Linked DNA regions of Homo sapiens: region 2 is linked to region 1. The links are contacts of gene promoters, found by promoter capture Hi-C in blood cells and fetal thymus (Javierre and others, 2016). All regions are on one chromosome and are shown on one strand. Each heading gives the region's core, a stretch centred on a gene start or on the middle of the fragment in contact. The rest is flanking DNA. Distances are from core to core; before and after follow the strand shown.

Region 1 (6,987 bases), core at 2,828-5,327:
CACCTGTCCTGCCTTTTTTTCCTCCCCTCCCCTCCCTCTCTCTCTTTCTCTCTTTCTTTCTTTTTGATGGAGTCTCGCTTTGTCACCCAGTCTGGAGTGCAGTGGCGCAATGTCGGCTCAATGCAACCTCTGCCTCCCGGGTTCAAGCGATTCTCCTGCCTCAGCCTTCCCAGTAGGTGGGATTACAGGCATGCACCACCATGCCTGGCTAATTTTTGTATTTTTAGTAGAGACGGGGTTTCACCATGTTGACCAGGCCTGTCTTGAACTCCTGACCTCAAGTGATCTGCCCGCCTGGGCCTCCCAAAGTGCTGTGATTACAGGCGTGAGCCACCATGCCCAGCCTCCTACATTTTTTTTTCTGAAGTCTTACATGTTACACCTTCAGAAATGCCTTTCCTGCCCACCTAATACTCAGAGTTAACACTCATATTGCACTCACTCTGTGCTAGACAATGTTTTTTTGTCTTTGTTTTTTGTTTTGAGACAGAGTCTCACTGTCACCCTGATGTAGTACAGTGACACAATCACAGCTCACTGCAGCCTTGGCCTCCTGGGCTCAAGTGATCCTCCCACATCAGTCTTTAGAGTAGCTGGGTCTACAGGTATGTGCCAGCACCAAACCTGGCTAATTTTAATTTTTTTTTTTTTTTGGTAGAGATGAGGTCTCACTATGTTGCCCAGTCTGGTCTTGAACTCCTTGGCTCAAGTGATCCTCCTGCCTTGGCCTCTCAAAGTGTTGGAATCACAAGTATGAGCCACTGTGCCCGGCCCAGACATTGTTTTAAGCCATTTTCATATACCAACTCTGTTAAACCTTTGTACAAGCCTATGAGGTAAGTAGTATTCTTACAATCTCCAGAGGAGGTAAGCATTATTATTATCTCCATATTGGAGCTGAGAAAACTGGAGTACAGAAAGGATAAATAACTTCTCCAAACCAAAATCACACAATAAGTGGTAGAGCCTGTATTTGAACTCTGCCCACATGGTGCTAGAAGCTACATCCTGTACTTTACCTCCTCTGTGTTATCAACCTAAAGTAGGCCTCTTTTTTTTGAGACGGAGTCTCGCTCTGTTGTCCAGGCTGGAGTGCAGTGGTGCGATCTCGGCTCACTGCAACCTCTGCCTCCCAGGTTCAAGTGATTCTCCTGCTTCAGTCTCCTGAGTAGCTGGGATCACAGGCACGTGCCACCACACCAGGCTAAGTTTTTCTTTTTCTTTCTTTCTTTTTTTCTTTTTCTTTTTTTTAAGACGGAGCCTTGCATTGTCACCCGGGCTGGAGTGCAATGACGCTATCTCAGCTCACTGCAACCGCAACCTCCATCTCCCAGGTTCACGCAATTCTCCTGCCTCAGCCTCCCAAGTAGCTGAGATTACAGGCACACACCACCATACCCGGCTAATTTTTTGTATTTTTAGTAGAGACAGGGTTTCACTATATTGACCAGGCTGGTCTCAAACTCCTGACCTCATGATCCGTCCGCCTCGGCCTCCCAAAGTGCTGGGATTACAGGCGTGTGCCACCATGCTGGGCCCTTTTTTTTCCCCCAAAGGACACAAGTACAGGTAAGAAAATGTAGTTTTTTGTTTTTTTTTTTTTTTTAGACAGGGTCTCACTTTCTCTCCCAGGCTAGAGTGCAGTGGTGGGATCTCAGCTGGTCAGGAACTCCTGACCTCAAAAAGACCTGCCCGCCTCGGTCTCCCAAAATGCTGGGATTACAGGCGTGAGCCACTGTGCCCAGCCAAAGGTAGACCTCGTCTACTCCATTTTTCTTGCTTATAGTACCTCCTATTTTCCCTTTTGAGTACTAATCACAATTTGCAATTAAATATTTGCTCACTGCCAGGTATGGTGGCTTACACGTATAATCCCAGCACTTTGGGAGGCCAAAGCAGCGGAATAGCTTGAGGCCAGGAATTTAAAACCAGCCTCAGCAAGACCTCACCTCAACAATTTTTTTTTTTTTTCTGTTGGCCAGGCTGGAGTGCAGTGGCACGACCTCAGCTCCCTGTAACCCCCACCTCAAAGCAATTTTCATGCCTCAGACTCCGGAGTAGCTGGGATTACAGGCATGTGCTACAATGCCCAGCTAATTTTTGTATTTTTAGTAGAGATCAGGTTTCACCATGTTGGCCAGGATGGTCTTGAATTCCTAGCCTCAAGATATCTGCTCACCTTGGCTTCACTACTGGGATTACAAGTTTGAGCCACTGCACCCGGCCTCAACAAAAACAAAAATTTTAATTACCTCACCCTATGCATCTCTTCATTTGTATCCTTTGTAATATCCTTTATATTAATAATAAACCAGTAAATGTAAATAAATAAATAAATACTGTTTGTCTCTTCCCAGCAGATTGTAAGCCTGATTAGGGCAGGGATCATATCTGTTTTATTCACATCATAAGCACTGTGTAACCTCTGGTTTCTTTTCTCTTTGAGATGGAGTTTCACTCTGTGGCCCAGGCTGGAGTACAGTGGCGCCATCTCAGCTCACTGCAACCTCTGCCTCAAGCAATTCAAGTGATCCTCCTGCCTCAGCCTCCCCAGTATTTTGTATTTTTAGTAGAGATGGGGTTTCGGCATGTTGGCCAGGCTGGTCTTGAACTCCTGACGTCAGGTGATCTGCCTGCCTTGGCCTCCCAAAGTGCTGAGATTACAGGCATTAGCCACCGCGGCCTGGCCAATAGGCACTATGTAACTATTAGTTTAATGAATGAAGAAATGAATGCTTGTGGGCATCATTCATTCTGCAACAAACTTCTAAAAATTAATTTTACTTTGAAACAATTTCATACTTTCAGAGGAGTTACAAGAATAATACAAAGAAGTTCACCCAGATATCTCATTCAGGGTTAGCCAATTGTCCACAAAATATACTTTAGAGAGCAAGAGGATTAATTCCAGGGTCTCTTGAGCAACAAATATTTATTGAGCGCCTGCTACTATTGGATTACATAACAGTCTCTTAACTGGTCTCTTAGCTATAGGCATTGCACCCCCACCCCTAGTCCCATACAGCAGCTCCTTTTACTAATTTATTTTTGAGGAGGATCTCGCTCTGTCGCCCAAGCTGGAGTGCAGTGCCGCGATCTCAGCTCACTGCAACCTCCGCCTCCCAACTCAAGCGGTTCTCCTGCCTCAGCCTCCAGAGTAGCTGGGACCACAAGCACGCACTACCGCGCCAGGCTAATTTTGGTACTTTTTGTAGCTACAGATAGAATAGAGATCTTTGTCTATTTTGTTCACGAAGTACTGCAAGCGCCTTGAGCTGTACCTGGCACATCTTTGTTGCTCAGCAAAGAGTGGTTGGATAAACGAACGCTGAAGGTATGCTAGTACCAGGTACTGTTCTCGGTGCTGGAGTTACAGCAAAAAACTCCCTGCCCTCGTGGGATTCTCACTGGAAGCATGCTTAAGCTTAAGCCATTTTTCAATCTTGACCCCACCATTTTGTTCCCTGTGAGATTTGGGGTGAACTGCAGTTTCCTAGCCTCACTTTCCTATCAATCGTTACGAAGATTAAAAGGAAAAATATCATTTGTATCGCATTTAGCATCAGAAATGCTTTAATAATATTCGTTTCCCTTCCTTTCAGGCTGGAAGACTGGGGCCTGACATCTCTGCCACAGGCTTAGGCGAGGTTTTCACAGGGACTTGGAAAGGTGCAAACGGTTACTACGGCCAGGCTTACCCAATTGTTAAGTGAAGATATTCTGGAGAGTGCTTAAAAGGGTTGGAAAAACAAACCAGTGAGTGGCTAGGACCACCTACTCCGCTGTTTTGCCTCGGAAAAGCCTCGCCGGCTGCCGGGAGGTGAAAGTCTGGAGGAACGGGAGGAAAAGAGAGGGGTGGCTGTCCACAACAGAAAACTACACATCCCAGCACCCCCGCGGCAGACGACTACGGGTCCCAGCAGGTTTCGCGGGGTGGACCGAAGCGGGCTCTCTTGGGGCCTGCAGTCGGGGTTCAGCCAGAGGGGGCGCCGGGCGTACCGACGTAGCGGGGAGAAACGGGTCGCGCTTTAACGGCGCTGCGCAGGCGCCACTCACGGGCCGGACGTGACGCAGGGAAAGTTCCGGCTTCGGCCTCCGCCGCTGCCGCCGCCGCTGCTACAGCCGCCGCCGCCGCTGTTGCCGCGGCTTGTTATTCTTAAAATGGCGCCGCTAGACCTGGACAAGTATGTGGAAATAGCGCGGCTGTGCAAGTACCTGCCAGAGAACGACCTGAAGGTGAGCCCTATTTGCGGGCTCGCCCCTTCCGGCTGTGGGGCGCCCGCCGGCCGGCCCTTCCTTTCTCCAGGACCCCCGCCGGGTATCCAGTCCAGTCGCGGTGGAGGGCCTCCCCCATTGCCAGTCGACCCGGTCCTACCCGGCGTCACGCCGAGGGTCTCGCGAGCCGAGTCGTCGAATGCTGTCCCGGTTGCCTCAGTGGGGATCCCGAGGGATGTCGCGGCCTCTGTCCCAGGGTCGCCCCTTCTGGCCTTCGGGCTGCCCCAGGACCCGCAGCTGTAACAGCTTTATTTAGAAGGCTCGGCTCCCCACCCCATCCCTGGGTCTCCCGCAGTCGGAGCCGAGCCCCCGCGGCAGTGCCCTCGGGATGGGGTCGCCTCCACCGGAGGTGACAGGAGCGCGGAGTGGCCGGCGTCTGACAGGAGATGCCACCGGCTACCGGAACGCGGCCTCAGTGTGTTTAGGTCTCTGAGGAAGGGGAAGGCGGTGGGCCCGAGTGGTTTGGTACTGGCGGGAGCGAACGTCAGGTCGTCCCTCTTCATTGCCACTCCTCCAAATTGCTTTTTAGGATCGTCGGTTTTGCTAATTCAGAGGTGAATCCCGTTTCTGAGTATGTTGTTGAGCTTACTGAAGTGGATAAAGTAGTTGGTTCTCAATAAATACAAATACTTTCTCCTTAACCCCTTCTTAACTCAGTATTTCATTTTCTTCGTTTTCTAAAGGAGGTGAGTTCCTTGTTACTCCTGAGTCCAAGTAAGAGTAAATGTATGTATGGGTAAAGGAATGACTTTGGTATACTGCTTTTCTTTTTTAAAACTTTTTAATTATTATTATTATTATTATTATTATTGTTTTTAACTGAGATAGAGTCTCACTCTGTCACCCAGGCTGGAGTGCAGCGGTGCGATCTTGGCTCACTGCAACCTCCACTTCCCGGGTTCAAGCGATTCTCCTGCCTCAGCCTCCCGACTAGGTGGAATTACAGGCGCCCGTCACGACGCCCGGCTGTTTTGTATTTTTAGTAGAGACGGGGTTTCGCCATGTTGGCCAGGCTGGTCTTGAACTCCTGACCTCAAGTGATCCGCCCGCTTCGGCCTACCAAAGTGCTGGTATTACAGGCGTGAGCCACCGCGCCGGCCTAGGTATACTGCTTCTTTGAAAAGTGTTTCTATGCATTTGCTGAAATCAGAGCTTAGGTTTCTAGCAGTGCTTATCAGCTCGTGCTAGTATTTAACCGACTCAGTGTATTCTTTTTTTTTGAGACGGAGTCTCGCTCTGTCGCCCAGGCCGGAGTGCGGTGGCACCATCTCGGCTCACTGCAACCTCCGCCTCCCGGGTTCACGCCATTCTCCTGCCTCAGTCTCCCGAGTAGCTGGGACTACAGGTGCCCGCCACCACGCCTGGCTAATTTTTTGTATTTTTAGTAGAGACGGGGTTTCACCGTGTTAGCCAGGATGGTCTCGATCTCCTGAACTCGTGATCCGCCCGCCTCGGCCTCCCAAAGTGCTGGGATTACAGGCGTAAGCCACCGTGCCCAGCCCCGACTCAGTGTATTCTTAAGGAAATATATTACTGTGGGTTTTGTTTTATTTCTTCTTTGTACAGTAAGTTGATACTTAACATCAGTCAACAAGTATGCATAATATTTGAGGCCACACGTGCTGTTGTGAATGTGACTGAATTGTACTTACCTGTTAATTTTATGTGGCATATGATAGGGGAGTCATTCTTGTGCATTTTCCCGTTTTTAATAGAATAATTTCAAATAAGGACAGCCTTCGTTAGTAGTAATGTAGCATTTGTGCTCATCTGAGTCCTTCAGACATTCCTTTTGTGGCTTCTTTCTGCTATGTGGTTTTTTTAAGGGAATAAGAATACAACTAGCATTGGGACCCAATTCATGGAAAACTAACCAGACCTCTTAGTAGCATTATTAATCCCATAGGTGAGGTTGACTATTGCATGTCAGTGAATTGACATGGAATTTTTTCTTCTTATTTATCATGCATAAAGCTTTTTTGAACTTTGTGTTTATGATGAATAAAATGTTGCTTTTTATGAAAATGTGTCTAGGGCACAGTGGCGTAATCTCAGTACTTGGGGAGGCTGAGGTGGGCAGATCATTTGAGATCAGGAGTTTGAGACCAGACTGACCGACTTGGTGAAACCCCCTCTCTACTAAAAACACAGAAATTAGCCGAGCATGGTGGTAGGTGCCTGTAATCCCAGTTTACTTACTTGGGAGGCTGAGGCAGGGAGAATGGCTTGAACCCGGGAGAATTGCTTGCAGTGAGCCGGGATCACACCACTGTACTCCAGCCTGGGAGACAGAGCAAGACTCTGTCTCAAAAAAAAAGAAAAGGAAATTGGGCACTGAAATGATTTGAAAGATAATCTGGCCAGGTGCAGTGGCTCACGCCTGTAATCCCAGCACTTTGGGTGGCTGAGGCAGGTGGATCACTTGAGGTCAGGAGCTCGAGACCAGCCTGGCCAACATGGTGAAACCCCGTCTGTACTAAAAATACAAAAATAAACTGGAGGTGGTGGCAGGTGCTTGGAATCCCAGCTACTTGGGAGGCTGAGGCAGGAGAATCGCTTGAACCAGGGAGGCGGAGGTTGCAGTGAGCCAAGATTGCGCCACTGCAGTCCAGCCTGGGTGACAGAGGGAGACTCCGTCTCACCAAAAAAAAAAAAAAAAAAAAAAAGAAAGAAAAATCTGTTGGACTTCTTTGTACCTCTTAGTTTGATAAA
Region 2 (6,920 bases), core at 3,561-6,060, 180 kb before region 1:
GGGTGACCAATGGTCCTGGTTTGCCTGGGACTGTCCAGGACCCTGAGAATCTAGCCTTCCCTCTTGGGTAAGGTGACCAACCATCTCAGTTTGCTCAGGATTGAGGGGTTACCTTGGATGTGGGATTATTCAAGACCCAACCTAGAATGGAGGCAGCAGGCCGGTTCCAGCCAGCGCTGGGCAAGGAGCCTCTGCCTGCCAGGCTCCATGCTGGAGCCCTAAGGGAGCAGCAGCTACAGCCTTTGCTTGTCATGGGCTGTCTGGGGAACCCTGGGGCCTCTGTCTTTGTGACAGCCTATGTGTGTACAAGGGCCAAGGAGGAAGACATAGAAGGACACTTCAGCACACAGCTATTAGCAGGGTTCCAGAAGGAACACTGAACATCCAACGTGTCCCTTATTCCTTGCAGGAATCCTGGCAGCCAGGAGCTCGTGAGCCCGCTTTACAGATGAGGAAACTGAGACACAGGCTAGTGAAGGCACTTGCCCAGCATCACAAGCAGCCAGTGAGCCGCTGAGGGGCTGAAGGATGACAAGACCCCACTTAAGGACAGGTGTAGCCCCCAGAGAACAAGTCAGTCCGAACCAGGGAAAAGGCAGAAATTAGCAACATTTCTGGAGTCTTGCAGCTGTGTTCCGTTTAATCACAGACTGCAAATTGAATGATGTTAAGGCAGTGTTGCCTCTTTGAATTTCCCCCAAGCCCTGTTTAATGAATAAATAGGCGTGATTTGTAATTAGCTTAGCCATCGTGCGAATGCTTCCAGAGCACCTGAAGTGAGTTAAACATGCCCCCTGCAAACTTGTCGACAGTATTCATTGACTCAGCAAACCTCTCTTCCTGGTCCACCGTGCATGCGACCAAATAATCACGTATCGCTCTGCCGTGGACATATTGAGAAAAATTGGGATTTTGTTGGTCTGGAAAGATGGAGACACAGTGTCTTCATCAGTCCTGCCTCCCAGGTGGGAGCTGAACGCTGCAAGCTCAGTTTTTGTTGGCAAATGCTAAGAAACCCCCAGAACAATCTCCCATCCCCTCCCTGAACCAGCCTTGAAGAGAATCCCACAACCACCAGCAGGAAAGTCTGGTGGCTAACGCCACCCTACGGAGGGGTGGGAAGCTGGGCCCTGGGTCTTCACCAACCCGGGCTGCCTTTCTTTTGTGAAAGCAGCTGCCTGATTCCCACAGCTGCAGTTGGAGTCCACTAACTCCTGCCAAGCTACCAGGCGCCCTGCACCATTTATCCTGTAATGGTGGCTGCATATCAGTTTTGCCTAGTTTCCGTGCTAACTATGTGGCTGCTGCTGAAATTCCAAATCCTAATATTCCCCTGCTCCGGGCAGGTGGGAGGGCCCCTCGGCACCGGTAGCCTTCTTGATTACCCACATGTTTTCCAGCAAAGGGGTTTCCATTCATCTTCATCATGGGCTCAGTCTGTGCACAGAGAGGAGGCATCCGCCCTGGCGGGGCCTCTCCACCCAATCACCTGGAGGCTTTCCCTCATCTGTTCCTCTGCCTTCACAGCCGCATTTATATTCCGCCTGCCCTGCTGCTTCCTCCCGGGCCTGCGGCGGATCCTCAGCGCCAGGCCTCCTCCCTCTGGGCCCTGCCTGCGAGCCCAGGTGCCAGCCTGCTGCAAAGAGGAGGCGTGGGTCACCCACCCCTTCTCCTCCTGAATCAGGAGGTGGAGACTGTCGGTCTGTCCTTACCATGACCTTGACACTGGGAAGTGGCCCTGGGCCCCGTGTGGAAAAGCAGGTCTTCCCTGCTCTGGCAGCTCAAATTCAATCTGATCTGCTGATGCCGGCTGGGCACCAGGCTTCATGCTGGCACTACAGATGCCCGGGTGTCTGGCCCTGCCCTTGACGGACTCGAGTGCACATGGGAAGTAAACACCAGGATCAGGATAATAAGGACCTGCTGTGGGCACCATCCTCTACAGTTTGCTCCCCAGTTCACATGAGCCCTCACAATGCTGTGGGGCTGGTTTTGCAGAGGGCAGACAGGATCCCTCAGTAGCTAAAAGTACAGATTTGGGCATCCTCTAGACCTGGATTTGGATCCTGGCTCTGCCATGCATTTTCTATGTGGCTTTGAATAAACCCCTTTGCATGTCTGAGCCTCGGCTTCCTCATCTGTGAAGTGCAGCCCTTACAATGCCCACTACCAGGTGAAGGCTCTGTGACGTCATGTGGGAAGCGTCAGCCCCGGGCCTGCACACGGAGTCTCGCTGTCACCCAGGCTGGAGTGTGGTGGTGCAATCTCGGCTCACTGCAACCTCCACCCCCCAGGTTCAAGCGATTCTCCTGCCTCAGCCCCCCAGGTAGCTGAGATTATAGGTGCACGCCACCACACCAAGGCTAACTTTTGTGTTTCTTTTTTTTTTTTTTTTTTTTTCTGGAGATGGAGTTTCACTGTTGTTGCCGAGGCTGGAGTGCAATGGCGAGATCTCGGCTCACTGCAACCTTCACCCCCCGGGTTCAAGTGATTCTCTTGCCTCAGCCTCCCAAGTAGCTGGGTTTACAGGCACGCGCCACCATGCCCAGCTAATTTTGTATTTTTAGTAGAGATGGGGTTTCACCATGTTGGCCAGGCTGGTCTTGAACTCCTGACCTCAGGTGATCTGCCCGCCTCAGCCTCCCGAAGTGCTGAAATTACAGGTGTGAACCACCACCCGGCCTAACTTCTGTGTTTCTAGTAGAGACAGGGTTTCACCATGTTGGCCAGGCTGATCTCAACTCCTGACCTCAAGTGATCCGCCCGCCTTGGCCTCCCGAAGTGCTGGGATTACAGGCGTGAGCCACCATGCCAGGCCATGAAGAAGGTTTTGGAACTCGAGGCATGGCCATGACTAACAACACAGGCGCCTCCCCAGAGCACCTTCCCAGAGAATGGGACAGGTGGCTCCCACAGTTCTCAGGACTGTGTCCAGTGAGATCTTACAGTGTTGGCACCTGTGGGCTGGGCTCAGGTCACTGGCTGTGGCTCAGGGCTGTTGCTGCATCTGTAAGATTGGAATAATAACCTTGTCGTTGGGCTGCTAGAGAAAAGCTTTATATCGGGAATAATGATTATTTGCCACAACGCAGGGTGGGCAGAGAGGAACCTGGTGTGTCTGCCTCGGGGGGCCTGGGTGAATTCTGGGCTCCAGCCACAGCTGTCTCATGAAGGGCTTGGTGCAAGCCCATTCGGGGTCTGAGAGCCGATTCCCTGTTCAGGAGCCCCCTGCCCTCCTGGGCATCCTCGAAGGCGCCCCAAGGCTCCTCCAGAGAGGGCTGAGGGCTGCCTTTGCTCCTCCTTTTCAGCCAATGGTTTGTACCTGTCCTTGGCCACAAGATGTCACCCAAGGAACAGCAAAGCCGGGGCCTGGGAGGAAACTGGCCGACGGCAGACTCGCGGGGGAAGGGGTCGGGGATGGTGCGGAGAAGCCGCAGAGGCAGCGTGCTGCAGTGGCTGCAAATCTCGGGATTTCTAGCAGAACGGGGCGCTGTTGCCCTCAGAGGACGCCGATTTGTAGATGCCACCTAAAGATAATAAATTCGAAAATAATAAGTAAATAGGGACAAAAATCCCACCTTCCCAGAGTAAAATTAAACCCTGCTAGCCAGATAAAGGGCTGCAAACAGACAAGACACTTTGGTGTGATCAGGGCTGCAACCCAGGCAGGCACTGAGCTGGGCTCCAGGCATCCTCATCCCGGCCCTGTGCTTGGTGGGGTGGGAGCAGACACAGGAGAGGTGTGACCTGGTGTGGCACAGCCTCTGCCCCACCTAATTCTACCCACTGGAGATCAAGGGCTTTGGGGCACTCTGTCTTCCCAGAGGACGTGAAGAACTACCTGGCCCTGGACCACGACAGGGATAGTTCCTGTCCCAGCAGGGCCTGAATTTGGAAGGAAAAGATGGTGGAATCCCCGCCCTGAAGGGCTACTTTCTGCCTCTCATCCATCCCCATCTGCAAACATTAGGGACACCTGCCATTTGGAGGCATGCCCTCCCCTAGGAGCACAGGCTCCAGGGAGACACTGCTCTGGAGAGGGAGGGATGGGGGTGAGGCCTCACTGAGGAGGGAGGCAGGAGGGGGCACCTGGGGTTTTCCTCCAGAAGGGCCATCTGAGGCAGGAGGAAGGACTGTGGGGGAGGCAGTCAGATCTGGGCATCAGCAAAGGCTTAGAGGCCGGCAAAGGGCAGCACTTTGGGAAAGGTGATAGTTCTCAGTGGCTGGAGTGGGGCTGGCTGGAGGGGAAGGAGAAGGACCAGAGGCATGTGGCTGAAAAGGCAGGACAGAACCCAGGTAGAAAAGAGAAGATTTTAGGCAGAAGAGGAATCTGCTCAGACTTGATGAATTTTTTTGTTTGTTTGTTTTTGAGGTGGAGTTTTGCTCTTGTTGCCCGGGCTGGAGTGCAATGGCGTGATCTTGGCTCACTGCAACCTACGCCTCCCGGGTTCAAGTGATTCTCCTGCCTCAGCCTCTCGAGTAGCTGGGATTATAGGCATTCACCAACACGCCCAGCTAATTTTGTATTTTTAGTAGATACGGGGTTTCTCCATGTTGGTCAGGCTGGTCTCGAATTCCTGACCTCAGGTGATCCACCCACCTCGGCTTCCCAAATTTCTGGGATTACAGGTGTGAGCTACCGTGCCTGGCCAGACTTGATGAATTCTAAGGGCACCTAGGAGAAGGGGTGAGAGGGAGGCAGGGAGACTAGGAGTCAGTCGTGATTGTGGAGGTGGAAAAACTGGCTGTGGCAGCGGGGGACAGGTTTAAGAGACATTTCCCAGCCAGGCGCGGTGGCTCACACCTGTAATCCCAGCACTTTGGGAAGCCAAGGCGGGTAGATCACTTGAGGTCAGGAGTTCGAGACCAGCCTGGCCAACATGGTGAAACACTGTCTCTACCAAAAGCACAAAAATTAGCCAGGCATGGTGGCGTGTACCTGTAGTCCCAGCTTCTCAGGAGGCTGAGGCAGGAGAATCGCTTGAACCCAAGAGGCAGAGGTTGCAGTGAGCCGAGATTGTGCCACTGCACTCCAGCCTGGGCGACAAAGTGAGACCCTGCCACACACACACGCACAACACAAAAGAGACATTTGCCAAGGGCCCCTCAGGAGGTTTGGGCAATCCAGAGCCTGGGCCAGGGAAGAAGGCTGGGCAGCGGCAGGCATGAGTGACAAAGAGGCGTGTAGGGTGGGGCACATAGGGATGAAAGTATCTGGACCCAGAAAGGCATCATGTGTCAGGAATCACTCCACTGTGGTTACTGTTTATGACCACAGTGGAAAGGGACTTGAGCTCACAACCCAGCCTGTTAGTTGATAAACTGCCTCCTGGGTACAGTGTCCAATATTTGGGTGATGGGTAGGCTAGGAACCCAACCCCATCATTATGCATGTAATACCCATGTAACAAACAAGCACAGGTACCTCCTGAATCTAGAATAAAATAAAAAAATGGGTTCTCTTGGCTGTCCATGGTGGCATCACCCCTGCCATCAAGGGGCTGCACCCCACTGAGTACTTGCCGCCCTTGGCCAAATGCCTCAGTCAGACGCAGATACCAACCAGCAGGGACTGGCAAGAACTGTGACAGCTGCAGGGCTGGGTGCTGCTGCTCTTGCCTTTGCAGGTCGCTGTGCGTCGCAGTCCTGGAAACCTCTAGAACAAGGATCACAGAAGCAGTAGAGAACCTTTGAACTCCTAGCCTGTCATCCTATTACAAAGGAGGATTTGAACAGAAAATGAGTAGGAGAAAAGCTAGTGTTATTTTAGGTGTAAGTTCACCTGCTGGCAAGGCTAAGATTAGAGCAGCTCACAGGAGAATCGTGATTTTGAATCACCCAGATAAAGGTGGATCTCCCTACTTAGCAACCAAAATAAATGAAACAGAAGATTTGCGAGAAGCGACCACCGATCACCGATGGATGCTCAAGAACCCCGCTGAGGAAAAAAGGCAGGGCGCCTTTAAAAAATCCTGCAAATCAATCTACAACATGATCTTCTTAATTTTCATACATGCATAGACCACAATCTTTTCTTCTCCCATTAAGCTATTATAACAATAAAAGATTAATAATGTCCAGGCGCGGTAGCTCACACCGGTAATCTCAGCACTTTTGGAGGCTGAGGCAGGAGGATAGCTTAAGCCCAGGAGTTGAAGACCAGCTTAGGCAATATAGCGAGACCCCACCTATAAAAAATACAAAAAAATTAGCCAGGCGTGGCGGCATGCACCTGTAGTCCCAGCTACTCAGGAGGCTGGGGTGGGAGGATCACTTGAGCCTGGGAGGTCGAGGCTGCAGTGAGCCATGATCTTACCACTGCACTCCAGCCTGGGTGATAGAGCAAGACCCTGTCTAAAAAAAAAAAAAAAAAAGATAAATAGTAACAACCACCAAAAAGGGCTCTGAGTGTCTGCCCTGTGCACAGGTGGTCCTTGTGCTCCTGGCAAGTCCAGCGCAGGCCCTCCCTGGCAACTGCCCTGCTGACCGGTGTCAGAGGAGGCACCTTTCCAGGATTCCCTGGCCTGTCTCCTCACCCACAATATACCAGGTTAAAAAGAAGCTTGGGCCAGGCACAATGGCTCATGCCTGTAATCCTAGCACTTTGGGAGGCCAAGGCGGGCAGATCACCTGAGGTCAGGAGTTCGAGACCAGCCTGGCCAACATGGTGAAACCCCCATCTCTACTAAAAATACAAAAATTAGACGGGCATGGTGGCATGTGCCTGTAATCCCAGCTACTTGGGAGTCTGAGGCAGGAGAATTGCTTGAACCTGGGAAGTGGAGGTTGCAGTGAGCCAAAATCGCGCCATAGCACTCCAGCCTGGGCAACAGAGCGAAACTCCGTCTCAAAAAACAAAAAGCAGCTTGGGGCCTGAACTTGTGTTCAGTGGCAAGACTATCAAGTCCCCTCTTGAGTCA

The links. The method cuts DNA at HindIII sites, captures the fragments that hold promoters and counts their contacts. A CHiCAGO score of 5 or more calls a contact.
Region 2: a fragment that was not itself captured here is called in contact with the fragment with the promoter of PPP6C in region 1 in 2 of 17 cell types (endothelial precursors and megakaryocytes); the score reaches 5.5 in endothelial precursors.

Annotation. Positions count from the first base shown.
Region 1 is chr9:125,186,893-125,193,879 of GRCh38, reverse strand. It overlaps PPP6C (protein phosphatase 6 catalytic subunit), which reads left to right and starts at 4,077. Exons shown (of 7, transcript NM_002721.5): 1 at 4,077-4,236. The coding sequence starts at 4,162. RefSeq lists enhancers at 3,800-3,879, 3,182-3,968, 3,969-4,755. The HindIII fragment of the contact is 2,825 bases long and covers 3,427-6,251 here.
Region 2 is chr9:125,371,321-125,378,240 of GRCh38, reverse strand. No RefSeq gene overlaps it. Among named protein-coding and RNA genes, the nearest start is that of GAPVD1, 110 kb to the right of the region's middle. RefSeq lists an enhancer at 6,663-6,920. The HindIII fragment of the contact is 3,508 bases long and covers 3,057-6,564 here.